Linked DNA regions of Homo sapiens: all the other regions are linked to region 2. The links are contacts of gene promoters, found by promoter capture Hi-C in blood cells and fetal thymus (Javierre and others, 2016). All regions are on one chromosome and are shown on one strand. The core of a region is centred on a gene start or on the middle of the fragment in contact, and the rest is flanking DNA. Distances in the headings are between cores, read along the strand shown.

What was found. The method cuts DNA at HindIII sites, captures the fragments that hold promoters and counts their contacts. A CHiCAGO score of 5 or more calls a contact.
Region 1: a fragment that was not itself captured here is called in contact with the fragment with the promoter of PIGA in region 2 in 1 of 17 cell types (naive CD4 T cells); the score reaches 6.5 in naive CD4 T cells.
Region 3: a contact is called between a fragment that was not itself captured here and the fragment with the promoter of PIGA in region 2, in 2 of 17 cell types (total CD8 T cells and activated CD4 T cells). The highest score is 7.6, in total CD8 T cells.

Annotation. Positions count from the first base shown.
Region 1 is chrX:15,846,642-15,851,152 of GRCh38, forward strand. All of the region lies in intron 2 of AP1S2 (adaptor related protein complex 1 subunit sigma 2), which reads right to left. Among named protein-coding and RNA genes, the nearest start is that of AP1S2, 5.9 kb to the right of the region's middle. The HindIII fragment of the contact is 1,579 bases long and covers 1,567-3,145 here.
Region 2 is chrX:15,332,542-15,337,043 of GRCh38, forward strand. It overlaps PIGA (phosphatidylinositol glycan anchor biosynthesis class A), which reads right to left and starts at 2,982. Exons shown (of 6, transcript NM_002641.4): 1 at 2,960-2,982. RefSeq lists enhancers at 2,734-2,783, 2,834-2,913. The HindIII fragment of the contact is 3,001 bases long and covers 1,378-4,378 here.
Region 3 is chrX:14,494,474-14,498,880 of GRCh38, forward strand. It overlaps a transcript of GLRA2 not described here. Among named protein-coding and RNA genes, the nearest start is that of GLRA2, 33 kb to the right of the region's middle. The HindIII fragment of the contact is 253 bases long and covers 2,570-2,822 here.

The DNA.
Region 1 (4,511 bases), core at 1,106-3,605, 510 kb after region 2:
CAGAATAGAATTGTTTTTAAAAAGGTTTCTAGGATTGCAGAATAAACCATACGAAAAGAACAACAGCTCCACGTTATTACAGAAGTTAGAGAAAGAGAACAGAAAGTTCCTATCACTTAAGGGAAACAGAGGCCTGTTCTCAAATTTACCAAGTTCTACACTGTTGAACTGAAGTGTAGTTTATTTACCCTAGAAGAGGGAATAAGGTTGGGAAACTTATATTCTCCTTCAAATTAGGATTCTAGCATATGGAATCATGTTATGCTTGACCCAAGGAAGCAAAACTTCAACCCTGAGGCATAGCAAGTCCTTTGAGGAGGATTAAAAGGGCATTTTAAAATGGTTTACATGTACTTAAGGCTTTTGAAAAGAAAGAAAATAAAAACCTAAGATAGGCTAAACACAGAACATTTCAGTGGAGATTATAATTTTCACTGAAGATCACTTAAATGATTTTTAGAAAACACAATGGGCAGTTACTGCTCGTAGCATTAATGTAAAATAATACTGTATACAGAATAACACAACCTGTTTTGAGACTCAATGAATTCTTGCTCCTTAGTATGAAAATAACTAGTATTCACACAACAGCATTAATTTCATTATTAAAACCATTTCATCTTATTTGATGTTTTCAACAGCAAGTACTATCTTTCATCCTTGATCACAGATTAAAAAAAGACAAAAAAAAAATGAGGCTTAAGAGTACAGCGCCTACAAGTGCTAGTACTGGGATAAGAAACCTGATCTTTTGACCTTAACTCCAGGCCTTTTTCCACTGTATCATACAAACTCACTTGGCATATATATCATGAGTTTGTGCATGTCTACTCTACCTGACTTCCACACTCAGTAAGTTATTTAAAATGGTGGAGCTACTGCAGTCTTATTGAGAGGAGGTATTCACATGTGTTCATTTATCATCATTGTGAAGGGAATAAGTCATGGAAGACAAAACAGGGCATCAATGCCAACTTTAACAAAGTGCTCCCTCTCTTTCCCATCGTTACTGTTTTTGTTTGTCTATTTAAAAGAGAATAGAGTATTCCAACTCTCCATCCTCCCTAACCCATGCTCATTAAATAGAACTTTGAATTTGAGGAAACTGATAAATGACACATAAGATTCCCTGATTTAAGAAAACTAAACATTAAAGGGACTGACATAAAAATGGTAGATTAAAAACCAGATATGACTAGCTGATAGGAACAGAATGCTAAATAATTTATTATACAAAGTTTACTAACAGTTTCAAGTAAAATTCCTTTTATTTAAGATTTCCTCATGCTACTATTAAACAAGCTAATGCTCGTACCATCCTCGCTCCTTATCCACAGTACTGCCTCTTTACTTACAAATAAAAAGCACTTAAACACTAGTCAAAGGTCCTAAACTGCATGAATCACTTGGAAGCATTAATTTAAAAATCATCAGAAACAATGTGTCTAAGCCCCAGCCAGTAATGTTTACTTTCACTCGGAATGGAAAAAGAATAATCAAATTAATGAATTCTTTGGTGTAGGTGAACAGATAGCTATCAGGATAATAATGTACCTCTTTCCAGAAAGCTTAGGGCAGGAAAAAAACAGAAACATAATAATTAAGTACCATTCACTGAATCCTCGCCCTACATGAGACATTAAATGTTAGCTAAGGCTTTTGCATATTTTACCACTCTAATCCTCACAACAACCGTATCCATGAGATACCATTATTATTTGCATTGATAAGAGACCCAGGTTTGAGTAACCTGCCTAGGAACAGCAATTTGACTCTAGAGCCCAAGTTTTACATTAAAAACTATAGCCAGCAATTGCATTAACGTAATCCCATACCTGGCAAAAATTAAAATGTGCTCGAAACAATATTTTAAGAGCTTTGAAGAGAAGTAAAATATGCCATACTGATTTAGTAAAAGATTACCAAGAGAACCTGAAGTGTACTTCCTATATTTAGGACCAAATGGTTTTAAAAAAATCAATAATGAGCTCATTTTGTTCTCTTAGTGCCTATTTGTAAGTCTAAATCTGAAGTAAAATTAATAATAGACTAGTAAGAAGAAAGGTATGTTTGGTTATTTTTAGCACAGTGGATTAAGGCTTACTCTAATTACTGGCACTCAGAGAACATCTGAAAGTGCCTATTCTTATATTCAAAACACATGACTTCTCCGCAGTCAGCTAAATATCAGCTAAATATCAGCTGACTGTGGGTGAATGTAGCTGAAGTGTTCTCAATACCCACTGGTATGTCATTAAAAATTCTTTTGTTAGTAAAGAAAATCAGTAAGTATTCTTTAACAAATTATCAAGCTAGTAATTTGGAGATATATATGTTTTTAAATTAATTTTAAAAGACCTTAATCCAGTGACTCTTCCACAAAATGCTACACAAAACAGGAATCAAAAAAGCACAGTATTCTGTCTTGAAGGGATCTTCAAGAGCATTTAGAGATAAGGAAACAAAGTGACTTGTTTAAAGTCATAAAACTAGCTAACGTTACAAAGGGAACAGAACTTAAGTCCCCAGATTTTCAGTCTGTCTTTTCAGCTAATATTATTCTTATCCATCATTCCCCTCTCAAAAGGGGGAATTTGTATGCCAAATACTCAGGATGAAGAATGTAGATGAGATAATTTAACAAAAACAACAAAAATCACTTGCTGATATGAACAGCAGAAGTCCCAGTCCAGAATTTCTCAGGCGCTAAGCAGTAATTCTCCTGCTTAAAAAGCTCTTCGCTTCCAGCAGTAGGGAAAACAAACCACCTGTTTATACCAACAAAAAATATGTCCGTAAGTGGTAGAGTAGATGAGGTTTTCAGTATGAAATGGAAGGGGGAACGTATAGAGAAAGAACTGATAAATTCCACCTTTTGTATATGACTGATATCTCAATAAAGCTGTTTTTTTTAAAGTCCACCTTTTATTTAAAGGTGCTTGATATAAGTATCAGAGTTGGATTAGATACCCTTTGTAGCTTTCAAAAGAAAAAGTAGTGGCTCAACACGGACAGACTGAGTGACATGTGCATGAACACCAAGCAGTGCTTTCCTTTCTTCCCATAACAGCCCATTCCTGGGATTGAATCCCTTGCTGGTATTTTCCTCCTCCACACGGGGGACTCCTTCCCCTATCTAGAAATAAGCTTAAGCCTCTCACACCTTCTTTTTTAAAAACCTTGTCCCCCACTCCTATGTCTATGAGTGGTTACCACCTCGTCTCCTGTCCTTCACAGCAAAGTTCCCCAAAATAGTCTACACATGCTATTTAAATTTCTCCACCTCTTCACACTTCGCCCCATTACATCGAGAGTTCTATCTCCACTATTCCACTGAAAATGTTCTGGCAAAGGGCATTATATGAAATGCTCACTGTAAAATCTACCAGATTCCTTCCTCACTTTCATTGAACTTTATGCAACATCTGGCATTGGTGAAATTTCTCATTCCACTCTGAAGGTCCCTTCTTCATCTCCTTTGCCTGCCACTTGAATGCTGGTGATCTAATACTTTGTCTTATTTTCCCCAGACTTCCATACTTACACCAACCACATCCCACCAGAAAATCAGGCTTCTCTTAATGAAAGTCACATAGACATCCCCAAATCAACTCACCCCAAAATAAGCCGAGTTATCTAGCTCACCTTGTACCCCATCAGCAAACCAGAAATGTGGAGATCACCCCACTCCTCCCTTTCCTTCGCTGCTCTCTCCGCTTTGTTGTTGTCGTTGAGGGTCTCACTCTGTCACCTAGGCTGGAGTGCAGTGGCCCAATCAGGGCTCAGTGCAGGCTTGAACTCCCAGGCACAATCAATCCTCCCACCTCAGCCTCCAGAGCAGCTAGGAATACAGGTGCATGCCACCACGCCCAGCTAATTTTTTTTTTTTTTTTTAATTGTAGAGACGGCGGGGTCTCACTAAGTTGCCAGGGCTGGACTTGAACTCCTGGGCTCAAGCGATTCTCCTGCCTCGACCTCCCATATTCTTCCCACTTCTAGAGGTGACCAAGTCTTATCAAACCTACCTATTTGATAATGGCTATTTAGTGACAGCCCTCCTTTCTAGCGCCTGGGTTCAGGATCTCACATAGTCTCCTACTGATCCTGCAGGTGCCAGTCTCAGCCCCTCCTGCCCTCATCCATTGTCTCAGTTCAATCTTTTAAGATATGTAAACCTGATCTTTTTCCAGCCCTGTTTAAAATCTTTGCCTCTAAGCTTAAGATCTGAGTTGCAGCCCCATGTCAATCACTAACTGGCATATGGCCCTAGACAAGTCACTTCTCCCAAATTTGCATTCTTTATAAAATTGAAGTTTGATCAACAACGGCAGTTTTCAAACTCAAGAACTGTCTCCTGTGCAGAGGGGTAAAGGCCAAGTGAGCCAGGATACAGGATCCTCATTCCTGATTTCACAAGGAGCAGCCTCACTTCCACTCATTTTATTTAAGGTTCTACCCATGGGGCAAAAAGCTTAAAACAAAACAAAACAAAACAAAATCACCTGACTAGA
Region 2 (4,502 bases), core at 1,732-4,231:
ACACAATGTAGCAGTCTGATTCATTAGCGGTCATGTCTTCTGGTATTTATGCCCTTCTATAGTATAGTCCCTTCCCGTTGCATTTGGACCTGGTTTAGCCCATAGAAGGTAGTGAAAGTGATGTGCAAATTTTTGGCCTCGGCCTAAAAAAGGTGTGGTGATTTCCAAGGTGTGGTGGTTTTCACTTGTGCACTCTTAGATATCCTAAGCCAAAGTGTAAGGAATCCATCTACTGTGCTAGAGGGACAAGGGAAGAGATAATATGGAGAAGGAAGAGCTCTGAGACTACATGGAAAGAGCCAGAGGCCCAGCCATCCAGCCAACTTACCAGCTAAATGCAGCCTCCTAGTGACCACTGGCAAGACCAAGAGAACCACCCAGCTGAGCCTAGCTCACTGCAGTATCATGAAACATACCAAAATGGCTATTGTTTTACATCGTCTTGGGGTGGTTTGGTAAAAAATAACAGACAACTAAAACAGGCCAGGATCCAAACTCGGTTATACTGGTCCACTGCCTGTTTTTGTAAAGTTTTATAGGCTCATAGGTGTGCCCATTCATTTATGTGAATGGCTACTTTTGTGCTACAAGAGCAGAGTAGCTACAACAGAGACCATATGACCCACAGAGCTGAAAATATTTACCATCTGGTCCTCTACTAAAGTTTGCCAACCCCTGCTCTATAGCTTAGCCACTGATTCAATTACTCTCAAAGTTTTGCTAGCATTACCTTTGTGGTTTACACTAAAACACACCCGGAGCTCGAACTATCTTTTTGAGAGCACCTTTTTCAAATGTCACCAGAGCACATGCTGCACACATGTTCTCCTTCCTTATTCAAAGAGGGTGATTATTTAGGCCGGGTGCGGTGGCTCACGCCTGTAATCCTAGCACTTTGGGAGGCTGAGGTGGGTGGATCACCTGAGGTCAGGAGTTCAAGACCAGCCTGGCCAACATGAAGAAACCTCATCTCTATTAAAAATACAAAAATTAGCTGGGCGTGGTGGTGCCTGCCTGTGGTCCTAGCTACTCGGGAGGCTGAGGCAGGAGAACCGCTTGAACCCGGGAGTCCGAAGTTGCAGTGAGCCGAGATCGCGCCGCTGCACTCCAGCCAGGGTGACACAGCGAGACTCCATCTCAAAAAAACAAAACAAAACAAAAACAAAAAACAGAAACACAAAAACCAAAGAGGGTGATTATGTAACTGCTCCCTTCACTTTTTAAACTTTTCTATCAGTTATGCAGGCCTTTCAAACTCAATGAGTGTCCCTCCCTTCAGTGCGGTGTCTAAAGATAAAGGCTAAACTAGAGATGGGCTGTATCTGGGACCATTTTCTCAATTTAAAGTGCGAAATGTTTATCTCAGGGGTCCCCTAAAGCTTTATTAATGTGAAATGCCCACTCAATATTTAGTACTACTGTACATTCTTAGACACTTAAAGCTAAAAAGAATCTTGGATATCTAGTCAAAATCTTCCTCAGCTTTACAAATGAGATTTCCAAGGCTCCAGAAAACAAACAACTATACAATGAGAAGCCATCCTAAAGCTCTGAGTTTCCGGTTTCACCTGCAAACTCAGAAAATGCCAATTAACTGTATGTGCAAAGGCTTAACTGTCTAGTCTCTCCAACAAATTCATCTACTTTTTTTTTTTTTTTTTTTTTTTGAGACGGAGTCTCACTCTGTTGCCCAGGCTAGTGTGCAGTGGAGCGATCTCGTCTCACTGCAGCCTCTGCCTCCCGAGTTCAAGCGATTCTCCCACTTCAGCCTCCTGAATAGCTGGAATTACAGGCGCACACCACAAGCCCAGCTAATTTTTGTATTTTTAGTAGAGACGGGGTTTCATCATGTTGGCCAGGCTGGTCTCGAACCCCTGACCTCAGGTGATCCACCAGCCTCGGCCTCCCAAAGTGCTGGGATTACAGGTGTGAGCCACCGTGCCCGGCCTCATCTACATTTTAAATATACTCTCGGAAAGACCCCAGAAGTGTTTGTTGACTGAGTTTACTAATTAAGATTCAATATTACCAAATATTGAAATTCCCCAAGTTTGTACTTTTAGGTGGCTTAACTAACATTTTCTTACTGTGGTCACCTAAACCCGAACTTCCAGTTCTACCAGTTTTAAAAGATGAACGATAGCAAAAACAGTGAGTAATGAACCAAATGATATCATTTAAAATGTTGTCATTAGCCTGCAACGTTCTGTGAGGAGTCTGCCCACTTCCGCCAGGTTTTCAGTCCAAACATCTTTGACATAAAAGTTCATTATGCTGCACAATCGCAGAATCTTAGCTCTTAAAGCCGAAATGAGGCTTGGAGCTCTAGTGAATACCTCTCTCGTTTTACAAATGAGAACCCAGACAAGTTGAGTGATTTGTCCAAGGTTCCCACCCAGCCACTTAAAGTGGCAAAGACATTACCGTAAAATTCTCGACCACGACCAACGAGCCCTGGGCAATCATTAGCAGTAGAGGTTCCTGAAGAACCTTAGGGAGACCTGGCAGGAGTTGTGGGTCAAGAGAATGGTACTTCCACCGACAATTCCTGGGCACTGTCTGAGCTTCATTCCCTGATTCCCTGAGAGGTCGCTGGGGAAACGCTCGGGCCAAGGAGGGGATACCCCTGCTCAGACAGCGACCCCGCTGGGTTCATGGCGGGGATGGCCAGGCCCAAAGAGAGAAAGAAAACAACCAAAGAGTGGACGTTGGTCTCAGGCCCGGGGTTCCGGAGACCCCAGTCCCTCGACCCACCCGCCTGAGCCAAGGAACCCAGCGCGTCCGCCCTAAACGCACCCTCAGCCCCAACCTACTCTGGAGACCCTCCGACCCAACTTCCGGGCTTCGAACCGGGTCGGTTTCACCCCCTCCACCACCCGCCACGATCCCACGCGCGCAGAACAGCCCCATCCGAAAGCGGCCCAGAGCGCTGGAGAGGGGCGGCGCGACGCGCACTCACCGGTGAGTTCCATGGCCGCCAGTGTCCGGACCTCCCGCGGCTGCAGCCGGAGTCCCTCCCTGCTGTTCCGCAGCACCAATCTAGGGCGTCCGCGCCCAAGGGCCGCGCCCCCGAGGCAGCCAATCACAAAGAGGCGCTGAGGTCACGTCCGAGAGAGACGCTCTGTCGTCCCCACCCTTAAGCGCGAGATGTAACGTCAGCGCGCGCCTGCGCCCGTCTCCTAGAAGCGGCCGACGGTAGGGTGGGTGCTCACCCTGGTTTCCTGGTTACAGCGTCTCTATTCCGGACGCCAGTTCTCTGCGCGCTTGCTTCTGATTGGAGAGACTTTTTGTTTGTAATCAGCTGTGCCACGGCAAAACCGTGCCGGTTCTTACCGCTCTGGGACGTTTGCCAGATAAATAAATAAAAATACACAAAAAGTCAAAACAGATGAAACTATGAAGTTTTAATTTCAGATAAAGCACAAATGATGTTTAATACAAGCATGTACCAAATATTGGGGACTTCACTACACATTCGTTTTTTATCGGACATGTAAATTTAACTAGACATCCTGTTATTTATATGGCAATTCTACACTCTGAGGGAAACATACGAGGTCTGATCTGAAATATCAACTCCCACTCGACTGGTTCAACTAGTTACGATGGTGCTTGACTAGGAAGCTAAAGAATCAGTGAGAGTGGTATGACGGTCATCCATGCGTCACAGCTGGTACTTGGAATCCCCCATCCCTGCCATACGTGCGTTTTCGAGAAGAAATTCCTTTCTGAGTACCATCACAGCCACCGTTACTGGCACCCATTTTATTAAGCCTAGTGTAAGCCTATTCATCCCTGAAAATGTCTGCTCCTTTCTGATGCTTTCCCCAAGCCTCCAGAGAATGAAATACTCTCACTTTTTAATTTTAATAGTACTTTGGCCACATGCTGGCCAAAGTATAACATTTATCAGATGATATTCAAGTTGTTTGCCTGATTGCATTCTCCCTCCTCACCCTGATCCTTGATTACTTGTCTCTTGAGATCTCACATGGACTTCTTTCTGAAAACGGAAATTGTATTTGCTTGTTAAATGTCTGCCTTCCCTGCCAGATAGTAAACTGAGGCAGGATCTGTTCTTGGTAATGGATGTTGAGGAAGTTTTAGTTTAATACATGAATTTCTTTACCCAATGTCAGCACACTCCCTGACACATATTAGATGCTCACAATAAAATGTATTGACAGTATTTCGTGGAGTGTACCTTATACAAATTACAGTGCAATAACATCATTGAAAGAGCATTTTAGTTGTGAGATTTGAAGCGAATTAATGAGTTGATGAGTAAGACTAGAGTAGCAATCGATACTTTGCCCTGTGTTAATATTGATGAAGCATCGGAGAATTACAGTGATGAAGACTCAAGGACACTTAATTAAGCTTTATAATTTGTAGTTGGTTTCACAGATAACAGCGACATTACCAGATAGGTACAGCATTTGGCCTCCTTTCCATTTTTGTAATAGGTTTTAAGACAAAGAGTGGGGGTAGAAATCCTGGAA
Region 3 (4,407 bases), core at 1,446-3,945, 840 kb before region 2:
GGGTTGATCACAAAACTGGTTTTTTTCTGTCTTTTTCTGAGTTGAAAGAGTCTAAGTCCTATCCTATTTAAAGTGTTGGTGATCTTGTGATATTCCCCAATCCTAGCTATATTTCTGAGAAAGCTGTTCAGTGTTTACCTGAAACTGAGGTGTTTCCTACGACTAGGGACTTTCACTGGAAAACTGGGAAAGTCCTGGGAAAACTAGAATGGAAGTGGAAGAGACGGTTGTCTTGCTCTTTTTAGAAAACAGCAAATCTCCGAAGTCTCATGTCATTGGAGTTATTGGACTCTGGGAATCACCTGACTCCCGTAGAAGCACCTAAATGGGTTTTGCAGAAAAACTGGGTGGAATTTCCAGCAGTTCCAGTATTTGAAGAAAACTAGTGAGGGTCAGGACAGCATTTAAAAATTCCCAGATGTTCTGAGTATGAGGGCCGCCACATCACCTGGCCTTTAATCAGTCCTCTGTATGATGCCTCCTTTCATCCTCCAAGTTAAGTACAGGGACTTGGTTTCCTGTGTCACTTCAGCCGGCTGCAATTTTAGCAGTGGCTGCAATTTTAGCAGTGGCTTCAGGATGGACAAGTGATTGAATGAATGTCTTTCAGAGTCCTTGCTGGTAGATCAGATTGAGCCAAGGCAAACTTGTCACCATACAATGAGTTTCCTAATGCCCAGAGAAAAGGCATAAATGGCCCATTAGCCCTTGAGAGTTTTCAATGTAATGTAGTTTCTCTTTCTAGGATTGTGGCTTTTGATGTTTTCCTCTTATATTAGGTGAAAACCACTTAAAACATATTCAATATAAGACAATCAAAACCTGTCATTAAAAAAATTCTCTAAACATCGCAGAAAACTATAATGCAGGCGAATGGACATTATGTTTTACTTTTTAACCTGGTTCTAAATCCCTTCAAATAGAAGACATCTATTTTGTTAGTCGATATAGGGTTCTACTCTACCATCTAGAAAAGCAGCCATGATTAGTATGAGAGCTAGAAAGAAGGTGGAGTGGAAGGGGGAAAGAGAACTCTATCAATTACGTTGATTGAGCACGGGGTATATTTCTGAAATTTCTGACCCACCATATATATATGTCTGTGTGAGTGTGTGTATATATATATACGCACTATATATGTGTATGTATGTACACATACATATATACATATTGCATATATATCCTTATATACTTATATAAGGATATATATGAAAATATTACATATATATATATCCTTATTTAATCCTCCCAACAACCTTTGAGTGTATTATTATCTGTTTTATAGATAAGAATCTAAGGTTGAGAGAAATTAAGTAATTTGCCTTATGTATGCACAGAAAGCATAAAAAGGATTTGAACCCAGTTCTTCTTGATGCCTAATGATACCTCAGGGACTTTATGACCACTCTGGGCCTGGGAAATAAAACAGTCCATTTTGCAAAGGAGTACTTGAGCTGGTGGTTTTCAGGATAGTTTTGTTTCAGATAATCCAAGAGAATTGTGGAAAAAAATTGTTCTAAGACAGAAGCTTGTGAGCTGACATTTCTAGCTAAGGAGAGTTCATTGTGTTTGGGGTGAAAGGGAGATGAAATATTTTAGCATGGGCGAAATGCAAAGTCTACATGGGGTAATGACAAGAAAAAAAGAATGCATAGATTGTAGGTGAGGGGAAGGAACTTGAATCCTAGGTAAGTGTGTTGGCTCAGATGAGCCCAGAATTCCATATTGACATAGAGGGACTGTTTCCCAAACAAAGCCATTTTTATATGCTGTTCATCAGACTATACACCAAGCTAATGGTCTTACCTTGTATCTTGAGTTCTTCTAGAATTGACAGTCATCTCTAAGAAAGATTAGCTGAATTAGTACTGAGTAAATCCGCACATATGTGGGTTGATCTCAGATATGGTAACTCAGATTGTTTTTTAATACCATAATACGTTTTTCTCCATTTTCAATGCATTTATCACCACTTTCTGTCCTTGAGATAATTATATAAACACAATTAACTATAAGGCAAGTGGAAAGACTGTTATTACTGTAGTTGTCTTTAAATCTTGGAAATCAGTGATTTAGCTGACCCTGCTTTCCAACATTATCTTAATGCTAGCACTAAATTATTGTAAATCCAACATGTTTTCCAAGTGCTTTTATTCTGAAAGGTTCAAACTGTTTTCTAGATTCTTCATTAATCCTCACAATATGTGCAGGAGGTACTTGCTGTCAAACGTCAGGCCCATTTTACAGATGGAGGATTTAAGCAGTTTAATAAAAGACATGTCAGTCACATCCTCAAAGGAGTAAGGATCCAGCTCAACCGTGAACCTAGACCTGCTGGTTCCCCAGCTGTTGCTGTCTTTATTAAGGAATGTGGCTTCTCTTGGTTTCACTCTGGTGCTGGCCTTCAGCTGGTTACTAGGCAACTTGAGTGATCACAGCCTAGGTGGTTCAAAATACCAGAGCATCAAAGTCCTAGAAAAATGAAGCAAAATCTTTTCATTGTACACATGTTAAATTTAGTCTAATACCAAACCATTGTACCTGAGATTGGCCAGGAAAAAAACAAAAAAGCTTTGAAGGGCTACCAAACACCATGCGTCTGATATTTGGGTTAATTTTAGGCTGATAATTATTACAAGTGTCTTAGAACACAGAAGAGGAAAAATAAAGTATAGGCTGCTTGCTCTACAGAGCTTAGAGCCCAAGGCACTCAAATAAATAGTTGTATCACATGGAAAGATGATGTAAAGTGGTTGATGAGGGGTCAAGATAGAGAAGAGAAATCGTCTGATAACCAGGGCAACTTGATGTTAGCTTCTGTAAGCTTTCATGATGATTTCAAAACGAGAAAGCAAAAGTGAAAGTAGAGGGAACAAATTTCCCCAGCTACTTATTTCTAAAGCTCAGAAAGGAATTTATCATAAGAGTAACAGGAAGAAAACAGCTCGGTGCAGTCTTTTATAATTCTCAGTGTGAGGATCCATGTGGGCTTGGTTATATGAAGTGGGTTTTCTCCTTGAAGACAGAGAAGGGTACAAAATGTGGTGGTCCTGGGCTTTGCAAACAATAGCTGAGTCACAAACCACAGCACAGTCCTTGGAGACATAGTGAGAGAGTGGCAGGCTGAGCCTCCACTTCCCATCCAGACACATGACATGTTGCTGGGAGCATTTTCACTTCGTTCTGTTTCATAAGGGGACATTTGAACCAGATTTTAAAAGGCAAAAGCTCAATTTTTCTTAGTTTTAAAAAATGTTGCCATTTATTTGAAAACCTGTGGGACAATTGGCCTCTAAGATACACTTTGCCCCACCCCCTCCCATCTATCTCACAGCTAGGCAGACCAACTCAAAATGTGTCCCTTAAAAATCCTGTTTCCATGTGGCTCTGCTTAAGGAGGTACTCTAACCCAGAAATATCATCCTGGAATAGAACAGACAGCAAGATGGATTATGCATCACAAGTAAAGTACCTGCCATCACAATTACAACTCTAATATATAGTGAACACTGGCCAATAGCTTATGCTCTTTAAAGGAAGAGATGTTATTTTCATTTCTTCAGAGTTCTTGAGAATTCTTTAAAAAGTAAAGAAGTTATGTAAATATTGGAAGATAGTCATATCACACTGATTTGCAAATAATTCCATGGTTACCTAAAAAAACAAAAAAAAAACCAACAGGCTCAATTAAAAGAAAATTATGTGACTAGAAGTAAAATAATTTGGTAAGGTGCTGGTTACCAGGAAAAATATTTTAAAAACCAACTGATTTACTCATAGAAACCAGATAGAAATAGAAATGGAAAACACAACCATACACCTCATTAACAATAAAATAAAAACTACAAATTACATAGAAACAATTTAACAAGGAAAATGTAACATTTATTTAAAAGAGCTATAAATTTTATTGAAGGACATAAAATGAGATCTGAATAAATGTATTGACAAACTATACCCCTTGATAGAAAGTATTTTCCCCCCTAGGTCATTGACATTTTTATTTTTAAATTTTTTTATATATAATATACATATTTTGAGGGCACATGAGGTAATTTAATATATTTGTATAATTTGTACAGATCAAATCAGTGCAATTGGGATATCTGTCACCTTAAATACTTTTCTTTATGATAGAAAAAATTGAATTATTCTCTTCTAGTTATTTTTGAAACATATAATAGATTATTATAAACTATAGCCGCCCTACTGATCCATCAAACACTAGGTCTAATTTATTACAACAAACTGTATCTTTATACTCATTAATCAGCCTCTCTTCATTTCCCCCCACCCTGTACCCTTCCCTGCCTCTGATAACCATCAATTTCCTGTCTATCTTCATGAGATTCTCATTTTAAGCTCCCACGTGGGAAGGAGAATATGTGATATTTGTCTTTCTGAGCT